3 separate regions of the Homo sapiens genome follow, and all the other regions are linked to region 1. Evidence: promoter capture Hi-C in human tissues and cell types (Jung and others, 2019). All regions are on one chromosome and are shown on one strand. Each heading gives the region's core, a stretch centred on a gene start or on the middle of the fragment in contact. The rest is flanking DNA. Distances are from core to core; before and after follow the strand shown. Region 1 holds the start of MKX (mohawk homeobox). Region 2 has its middle 30 kb from the start of SNORD130. Region 3 overlaps MPP7 (MAGUK p55 scaffold protein 7).

Region 1 (3,894 bases), core at 668-3,167:
TTTAAGAAAACAAATATTACATGTAAGTATATCTTAAAAGCGCTCTAAATGCATTTTTAAATTGAGTAAATATAGTTAAGTACTAAAACAACAAAATTCATTTGTCCTATACTAACATGTACTATAGCATATAGCTCAAAAAGTTAGTAGAATACTGGGAAATTGCAAGTAACTGTATGATGCCTATTGCTTTACCTGGGACAGCTGACCAAAAAATGTTTCAGGGGTATGTTAGAGCTAATTTCATTACAATTCCCGGTGACTAACACCACTGATAGAGACCATAAAAGAGAAGGTGGCTCTTTTGTCCTATGAATTATCAATTAGATCTGCTTCTGTGGTGAAATTTGTTAGCTGAAAATTGATGGCTGAAACCTTAGGATTTACCCCTGTCTTTAAGCTCCTACAGCGAGGTCTGTAGACCAGAAGCCTGTACTGAACTCACACCACAAGGGCAGCGCCAAAGACAAGATGCAAGCGCTGCAACAGCAAGTTATATAACAAAAGAGAACCGAGGACATCAGAACGTGCTCCAATGATACTTTGTATCTTCCTGGTGCGCAAAAATGTAAACCGGCCTTCCTTTATGGTTTACATTGTACCCCTGCACAACGGTTTGCTATCGCGTAATTTGGGAGGTGACACATATGAAATTTGAGGGTGTGATTAGTCTTTAAAATAATAGTTTTGGTATATATTTTAAGCACTTCTAGCGACCCCCCCAACACACAAACACACACACACACACGCGCACACACACACACACACACGAAGAAGATGCTAAGGTGGGCCACTGCCCCGGCTCTGGCCAGCCGCATTTAGAGGGGAAAAGGACAAATGGCGCTATTTCTTTAAGCTTGGTGGGGGGAAATCTAAGTTTGTTCTTTAAAAAGGGCGAAAGTTCGCTAGGACCACAGGGCCTTCGGCGAGAGCGCAGGCAGCTTCGTGTTGGCACCTTGGGGATCTTCTGGGCTGCCAGAAGCTCTGAGCTTGCAGTTGCACCTAAACCGCCGCTTTCGCTACTTATATTTGCGGTAATGTTAGGAAGCAAAGTATCATCAATCAGAGAATCTGGTAGCCATTCTCTCTCTTTGCCCTGTGTCCCAGCTTGTGATTCTTCTAAGTTCCATCTCCTTTGCTGCGTGCAGATCCTTGGCTTTGGGCGCGCTTCCTCTTCTGCACTTGGGCCACCGCGGGTTGGCCACCTGGGCTGAACTCATCCCATCCTTGCTTTCCCCCATCCCTATACCCAGCGGCGAGGGCAGCCTCACCAGCCCTTGCCCCGGAGGTGAATGTGTGCCTGGCTTTGACTGAGACAACTAGGACCCCAGAAGCCCAGTGACATCAGAAAAGAGGCTCCTGGGCACTAGCACTTCCCGCAATACGCTCCAGGGCTGTAGGTGCAAAACGGAGCTCTAACTTCCCTCCAGCTAATCGAGAGGAAAATACAGGGCGCGTCACAGTGGCCTCTCCCGCCTAGCCACGCGCAGTGAAATTTCCGGCAATCGGGCCAGCTAAGACACGGGATTTGCACCGCAGCCTCTCAGCTTCTGGAGCCGGAGCCGAGCGCTCCCGGCAGCTTCTCCAATTTCTCTCCTAAAGTGCGAAGGGAAAAGCCCCGTCTGCTCCACGACTGCAAGGCCGGCGGATCTGGGAGCCGCGCCCGGCTCCGGAGGACTCGGCGGGCCCGGGGCTCCCCGGCAGCGGCTCCTCTGCTAGGGGTTAACAGCAGCCCCCGCGGCCGGGCGGGCGCGGACGCTTCCTCTCCACCCGCCCGGGAACGTGGATACCGCGCCCGCAGGATGTTCGCCGGCTGGGACCGGCAGTCAGGAAACATGAGAAGGCCTCGCTATTCCTGTTCCCGGGCGGCGCGCGCCGGGCTGGGTAAATAAAGCCGAGACGACGGCGGTGGCGGTGGTGAGCGCGCTGGAGCCCGCGTGGAGAACATGCGGCGGGGATGGGAGTGCGCCTAGTCTCGAGGCGGGAGAGCCAGCCGCCCTGCAGCCGGCCGTCGGCCCCGCAGCCACAGGTACAGCCCCCGCGTCGCCGAGTCTCAGCCGGCTGCGGCGGAACGCCAGGCTCGCTCTGGCCCCTGCGCCCTGGGCGCCGGTGCTCTCCCGCCCTTCCCCCAACTTCCCTCCAAGGTCTGGTGGAGAGGCGCTCGGGTAGCGGCCAAGGCTGGCCCAAGGGTCTGCGCGGAGCTTGGGAGCCCACCTGGCCGCGCCTCCTTTGCTTTAAAATTATTCGCCGGCGTTGGGGGAGGGGGACACTTCTGCAGGGAGTGACCTCCCCGGCCACAGTCTGGAGTGAATCGGGGTAAGTGATTTGAGAAGAGGCGCGGGTGGCCGCGCGCGGGAGTCCTGGGAGGGTCAGCAAGTGTGGTTCACACGCCCCCGGACCCCTTGCGACAGGACAGCGCTCGGACCTTTGCCATCGCTTGCCTCTGAGCCTGCTGCCTGCAGACCTACAGCGCGCCGGGTGTCTGTGTCTGCGATCTCTGCGTGGGCTTGGGGCTGCCGGGGAAGTGTCCGAGGTGGCTAACCTCGTGATGACTTCGCTAGGAAAAACACGTCGTCGCATCTAGGAGGACGCGCTGGGGTGGCTCGGAGAAGGCCGGGCCGGGGAAGGGTGTCTTGTACAAATAAAGCAGCATGAACACACATCCCTAAGGGCATGATTTTAAAAGAAAACACCAACGCGAGTCTTGACTGTAGAACAGGGGCTGCAAGCACGAAAATTCTCTTTGACACTTATCACCGAGGCTATGTGCACACCCCAGGCACGTACCTGTCTGCGCGGGAGGACGCAGTCCTAGGGGACACACGACATCCAGCAGAGGTCTGACTTCACTTCCCTACGAACACAGACCGTAGCCGTCGTTTGATCGCGGTGGTCACGCGTGGTCCTAAATGTCACGCGTGGCCTCTGCTGCGGTGGCCGAAGGGCGGGGCGGGGGCGTTGGCGAGTGTGGGCGCTTGGCGAGGCAAAGGGTGTGTGTGTGTGTGTGTGTGTGTGTGTGTGTGTATGCGCGCGCGCGTGTGTTAGTGGAGTAGCAGCCCATGCCGCGGCTGGACGGGCAAAGGGGGCGCTGGCAGCGAAGCTGAGGCCGCTCGGAGGAAACGGGAGCTGTCCCGAGGCGCGAGGCGAGGAGATGGGGCGGGCGAAGTCCGCCGCGCGCCTTGGGGCTGTAACTCTGCGGCTCCGCGGCCGCGCGGACTTGCTCCTGACGCCGGTGCGCGGCAGGCAGAGGCTCAGGGCCTCCGCGACCCCAGAGGTGAGCTGCTGGCTCTCCCCGACAGTGGCAGCAGTGGCCCGGGAGGTGCGCCGACCAAGCTGCCTCCTGCCTTGGGCTTCTGACACCTTTACAGCCTCTGAAAGGGTCCCCGGAGACCCCAGAGAGAGGCGGGTGTCGAGGGGCTACGAGCTCGCGGCTGACACCCGCGCTGCGGAAGAGAATGGCACTGATTGAGGGCTCTGGGGACCTGGGTCCTGGCGCCTTGGACCTTAGGACCATGCACTTCCCGGGGCGCGTTGGGGGATGATAGGAAGATTCTGGGAGAGAAGGGGGAGAAGTGGTGCTTTCGTCCTGACGCCACTTAACTTTTTCCTGTCCTTGAACCCAACCTCACCCCGGGGGACCTTGGCGGACAGAAGATGCGGGGGTTTCAACCAAACCATCCACGATCTAGAAAACACGAAAATCCCCCAAATCCCGGTATGGCCTGGGACTCATGAGCTGGGGGGTCTTGTGGATACGGTTGGCACATTACCCCAAATCTTCCCTTCCATCCAACCCCTCCTGACGCCCCGAGTTGGGGTTCCTAGAGGCTTTAGTCTTCTGCTGTGATTGAAGAACCACGCGCGGCCTCACGCCGGTCGCGCTCCGCAGTCCGG
Region 2 (3,860 bases), core at 1,010-3,509, 300 kb before region 1:
TGTCCTCACCCAAATCTCATCTTGAATTGTAATCCCCAGGTGTTGAGGGAGAGACCTGGTAGGAGGTGATTGGATCATGGGGGCAGTTTCCCCCATGCTGTTCTTGTGATCATGAGTGAGTTCTCAGGAGATCTGATGGCTTTATAAGGGGCTCTTCCTCCTTCACTTCCACACACACTCTCTCTCTCACCTACAGTCATGTAAGATGTGCCTGCTTCCCCTTCCACCATGATTGTAAGTTTCCTGAGGCCTCCCCAGCCATGCCTCCTGTATAGCCTGTGGAACTGTGAGTAATTAAACCTCTTTCTTTTATAAATTACCCAGTCTCAGGTGTTTCTTTATAGCAGTGTGAGAATGAACTAATATATATGTGTGTATGTACATATATATATGTATATAGTTATAGAGGTGGGGAGAGGAGAGAGAGGAGAGAGAAATGTTACTTATAAAGAAATACAAAATCTACTAGGCCTCAAACATCTCATCTGCAATAGGATAGTAGATGACAAAACCCATATCATATACTGTGGGGAAAATAAGTCTAAGCCTAGAGTTCTGTAACCATTCAGACTACCATTAGGAGCAACAGTAAATAAGCTCAGATGTTTTTACCACCCCTATATTCTTCCTGGAAGAAAAGGCTCAAAGATGCACTTCAGCATTGAAAATAAATTCATGAATGAAGAAGGCATGAATAAAAGCAAAATAAGTAAAAGAATCAGGAAAACTTAGGACAATACTAAATAAGAAGGATTTACGTTCAAATCATTGCTATACCACTTCCTAGCTATTACATAATGCAAACTACTTAACCTTCTTGAACTTTCATTTCCTAATCTATAAAACAGAAGTAATAATAAGACTGATACAATAGGGCTCACTAAAATACTCTACCTAAAGCCCTTAGGACAGTGTTTGGCATCGGGTAAATGTTCAGTAGATATTAGCTATTATTATAATCAATGATGGGCTTCAAATTGCTAAATAATTTTTGGTAGCCAATTTTGCAGTTCCATCAAATGTTATAATACTCATGCCATGCCCCTGAACCAAACAGCTTCCATGCACACTCATATTTGTGTAGCAATGTTAATCGCAGTAGAATTTATTGTGGGAAAAATTTAAATCAATCTCTTGTAAGTGAGGGAATAATAAACTGGTATAATATAGTTTTGACTACTATATCACTGTTTTAAAATATGGGGTGGTTTTTTTGCATTATATTATTAATGCAAAAAGGTATATATATAAAATGCAAAAGGTATATAATGCAAAAAGGTATACAATATTATATATTATAATACAATATATAATATTACTTATAAGTAATGTATCAAAAATATATGTATTATATATTATTATACACAATATGTACACTATATGTAATGTGTTATATATAATATGTTAATATTATTATATATTTATATATTAATATTATATAATATATATTATAATGTACATAAAAATCGTGGAAGGATGTTACATTCTCATGTGTAAAGATACATATTAAATGGTATGGAAAGGTACAAACCAATTGTTAATGGTGTATATACACCTGGTGTATATACCATCTTCAATGGTGCCAGCATCTGCTTCTGGTGAGGGCTTCAGGGAATTTTACTCATGGTGCAAGAGGCTGAGGCAAGAGCATGGCTTGAGCACAGGAGTTCAAGGTTGCAGTGAGCTGTGATTGTGCCACTGTCCTCCAGCCTGGGTGACAGAGCAAGACCTTGTTTCCAAAAATATAAAAAAAGAAATCTGATTCACTTGGAAATGAGGATCTAGAGTTCAAGAAAAATTAAAAATAAATATTTTGAAGTTTCTTGTACTCAAAACTTACCTTAATGAAGTTTTTTTAAATGAGATAAAAATTCTGAAAAAAAAAAAGAAAAGGAAAAACAATGTAGAGGTTTGGCTTCCAGACATCTACAAAACAAAACAAGATAAGACAACCCAAACCTGATATTTTAAAAAATATTTTATAATCCATTCTCTGGTAGGATTTTGAGCCTCATCTTTGTCCTTGGAGCTCCCCAGCACCCTATTTATATCTCCATTAGCTTCAGGTCAGATTGCATCTAATTATTTGCCCTTAACTTTATCTTCCTTTCGTCTCTATGCCTGCAAGATGAATGCAGAAAATGTTTCATTATATTGGTTTCCTCTCTCCTGCCTGCAATACCTGGAATTGGATAATTCATGGAAACATGGGAGGAATCATGGAAATGTATTCAACTAGACAATGCAAGACCATTCAGTAGTCTGGAAGTGCTGCTGCTGCTGTGTGACCTTGATATTTTAGACTTATGGGTAGGTTTGAGGAAGAAGGAAAATCACCTTGTAACTTTTCACGTTGAGGTCTTCAATGGATGGAAATATGCAAGGCCATTATCCAGCTGGCTGCCATTTCCTGCCATGAGGTAGAAATACCAACTGTAATGAAAACTTGGGGTCAGCCTCTCTCTCTCTTTTTTTTTTTTTAGATGGAGTCTTGCTCTGTCACCCAGGCTGGAGTGCAGTGGTGCGATCTCAGTTCACTGCAACCTCCGCCTCCCAGGTTCAAGCAATTCTTCTGCCTCAGCCTCCCAAGTAGCTGGGATTACAGGCATGTGCCACCATGCCCGGCTAATTTTGTATTTTTAGTAGAGACGGGGTTTCTCCATGTTGGCCAGGAGGGTCTCGGACTCCCAACCTCAGGTGATCTGCCCCCCTTGGCCTCCCAAAGTGCTGTTATTACAGGCATGAGCCACCGTGCCCGGCCTAGGTTCTCTTAAGAATTAGGGAATAAAAATCTGACCCCCAATTTTCAGGCACATTTTACAACCCATTATGAGTTCGACGATATTCCTGAGAACTTTTAGATAGCTGAGCTGAGCAAAATATTTTTTATAAAGTATACCTCTTTTAGCCCCATATCCCTAAAGATCACTTCCCTTTAACAATTTATTTTTTTCCACCAATAACTTTATATTCTTGAAAATAATATTTTTGGAGCTCAGCCCTTACCAAGTAGGCTGCCAAGAGGCACTTCTTATATACAAAAATTACTCAATTAATATTTTTTTTTCTCTGTACCTCTGTATTTCACGAATCTAAATTTTAACTCACCTTCCCACCAGAACTCTTCCACTTCCTGTATTCTCAAGCTTTGCTAAGGGCTCCATTGTCCCTCCAATGTGTCCAGCTAGAACACTCACAGTCTAACTGAAGCACTACCTATCCTTTACCTTGGTTGCAAAATTCTGAGATGACCTCCAGGATCCTCCTCCTGTGATGTACACACACCTTCTCCCAGTTCTTTAACCAAGCGCTAATCTAGATACTGCTAGGAAGAAATTTTACATCTGCAATTAAGTTTCCAAATTTGTCCACCTTAAGAAAGGGAGATTAACCTGGCCTAATCAGGTGAGACCTTAAAAGAGGTCAGGCTTTTCCTAAAGAAAGACATTGGAAGCATGAGAGAGAGTTGACGTTAGGGAGATGTCTCTGTTGCTGGCTTTGAAGATGGAGGAGGTCACATGCAAGAAATGCAAGTGGCCTCTAGGAGCTGAGACCCCCCCTTATCCTCCCACTTGCTGGCATTCAGCAAGAATGCTAGGATCTCAGTCCCACAGCTGCAAGAAACTGAATTCTGCCAATGTCCACATGAGCTTGGAGGAAGACCGTGAGCTCCAAATGAGATGAGCAGTAAGCCCTGCTCATACCGTGACTTAAGCTTTGTGAGACCCTGAGCAGGGAACTCAGTCATGCCATGCCTAGACTTCTGACCTGCAGAACTGTGAGCCAAAAATGAATGTTGTTCTGAACTGGTAAGTTTGTGGTCATGTGTTACACAGCAGTAGAAAACCAGTACACTAACT
Region 3 (3,675 bases), core at 759-3,258, 320 kb before region 1:
TCTCATTTAAACATAAATCTTTCTATCCTTTTTGAGGAAAAGGTGAGGATTTCAATTGAAAAAGTAAAAAAGCAACAAAAGAAATCTAGCATTTTCTTAAGTTCAAGTTAACAGAAAATAATCTCTTTACTTAGGATGCAAAGCTGGATCCATGTTTTCAGTCTGTCTTAGAGACTCATGTCAGTTACAGAAATGTTTATGTGGTGTTTTGTCCAATAATGAATTTCTGTTACCCTGTTTTTCAGGTCCCGTGGGAGTAGGGCTGAATGAACTGAAACGAAAGCTGCTGATCAGTGACACCCAGCACTATGGCGTGACAGTGCCCCGTGAGTTCTGCGCTACTCAGTGTTCCTATGACTACACTTACGATAATTTTAAATTTTTAAAAAATTATTTTAAAAAATTTTTAACTTGTTTTTAAAATTTTTTGGGTACATGGTAGGTATATGTATTTATGGGGCATGTGAGTTTTTTTTTTGTTTGTTTTGTTTTTTTGAGATGGAGTCTCACTCTGTTGCCAGGCTGGAGTGCAGTGGCGCAATCTCAGCTCACTGCAACCTCTGCCTCTTGGGTTCAAGCAATTCTTCTGCCACAGCCTCCCAAGTAGCTGGGAGTACAGGCACGTGCCACCACACCCAGCTTATTTTTTGTACTTTTAGTAGAGACAGGGTTTCACTATGTTGGCCAGGATGGTCTTGATCTCTTGACCTTGTGATCCACCTGCCTCGGCCTCCCAAAGTGCTGGGATTACAGGCGTGAACCATCACACCTGGCCAAGGTGTTTTGATACAGGCATGAAATGCTGAAATAAGCACATCATGGAGAATGTGGTATCCATTCCCTCAAGCATTTATCCTTTAAGTTACAAACAATTCAATTACACTCATTATTTTAAAATATACAATTAAGTTGTTATTGACTATAGTGACCCTGTTGTGCTATCAAATAGATCTTCTTCATTCTTTGTAACTATTTTCTTTTTGTACTCGTTAATAATGATTGCTTAGTACTTACCAAGCACGTATGGTATCAAGCACTGTTCTGAGCACTCACTCATCTAGACCTCCCAGCTGCCCCAAGAAGTATATAGTGACATTATCCCCATGTTACAGAGGAGGAAACCAAGGCAAAAATGGTTAAAGGATTTGCGCTAAATTACACAGATTTTTGGCAGAATATTTGTTAATCACAGCTTCCCTACTCTTAGGTTTTTATGATGAATTTTAGTACACATATGACATCAAATTATTACTTACAAATTTTCTTCTAAATAAAAGTCTAACAATTCTGTTTCCTAAAATAAGTGCTAATGTTTTCCAGAGTTTTTCACCAGCTTTAAGATTAGAAGAATCAAATCACAGAGAGCTGAAGGAGACTTAATTATAATATAAACCTTTCTTAATTACTTTTTATATGTAGTAATTGGCAGATGATGTTAAATGGGCTTTTCATGGCTATATAGTTTAAATATGGTAAGCTTCTTTTCAGTACACAGAATTAGATTTATTTTTATAAAAGTGGTTTTCATAGGCATTCTTACAAATAAAATGTGATGCTTGAAACATTTTGATCTGCAGAATAAAGGCCATTTGACTACTTAATATGTTGATAATAGAAAGCTGTCTAAAAGGCTAAATTGAAATGTTGGCTTTTTTCAAGCAGTTTTAGTACTGTTTTAAAAAATTTACTTGTATATTGCCCTTAGCGATGTTCTCTAGTTTTGGAAGAGTTCAACTTTATTTTAAAATTATAGTTTTCTGTGACCTCAAGTTCCTTCTTTTTACATTTTTCTAAATTATTGCTTGTAATCATTTTCAGTCACAAGTTATAGGACTGCTGCTTTCTACCAACAGAGATGAAAGTTAATGAAAATGTGGAACTAGACATTTTTTTTGCCTGTAATTATTCACCTCAATTACAAAAGCTGAATTGCAATATATAAGTTATTAGAAAATTTTACAAAATAATTTTTAAGCTTACAGGTGAGCAATTATAGAAGAGACCTAGAAGATGCAAAAACAGATTACAAAGAAAAAAAAACGAATTTTTAAACTTCCTACTGTGTATTCATCTCCTTTGTTTGTCTTAATTTTTGTAGCCTTCCCAGTCAAGTATAAGATGGTTGATATTATCTCTATTTCACAGAGAAGGAGATAGGGATAGAAAGGATATGTTGACTTGAGTTCCATAGATGATAGGTGCACTTGGATTCGAAACCAAGTTTTTTTTGATACCAGTTCTCATGTTCTTCCTCCTATATTAACACTAGCAATCCTTTAAAACTACAGACTATCTTTGTTGTATTCCAGTAAGTAGTCAAAACTGACTTCTTTTGAAGATGAGAAATATCCATAAGCCAATCTATCCCATGTAACTCCCTATGAGAGATGTGATATTATGGAAGGACCTAGGGCAACAAACATACTTTAGCCTCAATTTACCCAGCTGTTTAAATGTTTGCCTCTGAAGTTGTTATAGAAGTTGACAATATTACAGAAAGGTTGTGGGACTGGGACTCTCCAAAGAAATCCCCAAAGTAGTTATTTTTCACTCTGATTTACTTTTAGACAGATATCAATGTCAAAATGTCTTCATATAGTAATGTTTCACTGGCTTGCCTGATGATAAGATTCTCATGGAGTTCTATAAAAAGATATGCCCAAGTATCTGTATTTATAGCATGTTTGGAAAATACCGCATCAAACCAGCGTGATTTAATTAATTAAAGAAGAATATATTTTAAGAGTAATTTTAGAATTTCAGGTAGTTTTGCTTTGTAAAATACTTTGGGCAGAATCTTGAATATTGGAGAAAAATGATTGCTTTGCTTATACCACCAGTATTGTTTGATGTTTATTTCTATAATTCTCTTTTTGAAAGCATGTATTACATATCCACCAGAAAAAGTTATGGAGCAAAGGAACTCCTGCACATTGCTGATGGGAATGTAAATTAACACAATCATTTTGGAAAACTAAGTAGCAGTATCCACTAAAGCTGAGCAAACACATACCCTTGACCCAGCAATTCCGCTCCTACTGCACACCCAATGGAAATGCATAAGTACGTTCACCAAAAGACACGTACTGAGCTATTCTTAGTCATTATTCATAAGAGCTCAGAACTGGAAACTACTCAAATGCTTATCATTTGAATGAATAAGTAAAATGGAGAAGTAAAGTATAGTATATGCATACAAAGTATAGTATATGCATACAATGGAATACTGTAAAGCAATGAGAATGAACAATCTTCAACTACATGCAACAATAAGAATGAATCCCGCAAATGTGTTGAACAAAAGGAGGCAGACACAAGAGAATGAATGAGGCAGCGTGATTTCATTTTTATAATTGCAATAAAGGCAACATTCATGTGTGCTGTTAGAAATCTCAAGGATTTGGGTTAGAACAGGAACTCAAGAGGTGATTCTGGAGTGCTAGCAATTTTCTGCTTCTTGTTAGAGTGCTGGCTACATGGGGGTGTTAAACACTTTTATGTGTATATATATCAGTTATTGTATAATACTCAGGCTTTAAATGTTAAAAAGAAATAATAGTTTAACTGTAGTTTGCTGATTTTCTGGTTTTCCTAAAGTGCTATAGTTATGTAAATATTTCAAGAGGAAGCTGAGTGATTTTACATGGGACCTGTCTGTACTATTTTTGTAACTAC

The links. Contacts are between HindIII fragments. The study calls those that stand out against the background at their distance.
Region 2: a fragment that was not itself captured here is called in contact with the fragment with the promoter of MKX in region 1 in 2 of the 25 tissues and cell types used here (H1 embryonic stem cells and mesenchymal stem cells).
Region 3: a fragment that was not itself captured here is called in contact with the fragment with the promoter of MKX in region 1 in 1 of the 25 tissues and cell types used here (spleen).

The regions. Positions count from the first base shown.
Region 1 is chr10:27,743,842-27,747,735 of GRCh38, reverse strand. MKX (mohawk homeobox) reads left to right here and starts at 1,917. Exons shown (of 7, transcript NM_173576.3): 1 at 1,917-2,029. MKX-AS1 (MKX antisense RNA 1) reads right to left here and starts at 3,121. Exons shown (of 2, transcript NR_121652.1): 1 at 2,788-3,121. RefSeq lists an enhancer at 1,836-2,426. The HindIII fragment of the contact is 9,708 bases long and covers 224-3,894 here.
Region 2 is chr10:28,041,937-28,045,796 of GRCh38, reverse strand. No RefSeq gene overlaps it. Among named protein-coding and RNA genes, the nearest start is that of SNORD130, 30 kb to the left of the region's middle. The HindIII fragment of the contact is 5,301 bases long and covers 1-3,860 here.
Region 3 is chr10:28,066,423-28,070,097 of GRCh38, reverse strand. MPP7 (MAGUK p55 scaffold protein 7) reads left to right here. Exons shown (of 17, transcript NM_001318170.2): 13 at 246-326. Among named protein-coding and RNA genes, the nearest start is that of SNORD130, 5.1 kb to the left of the region's middle. The HindIII fragment of the contact is 3,355 bases long and covers 331-3,675 here.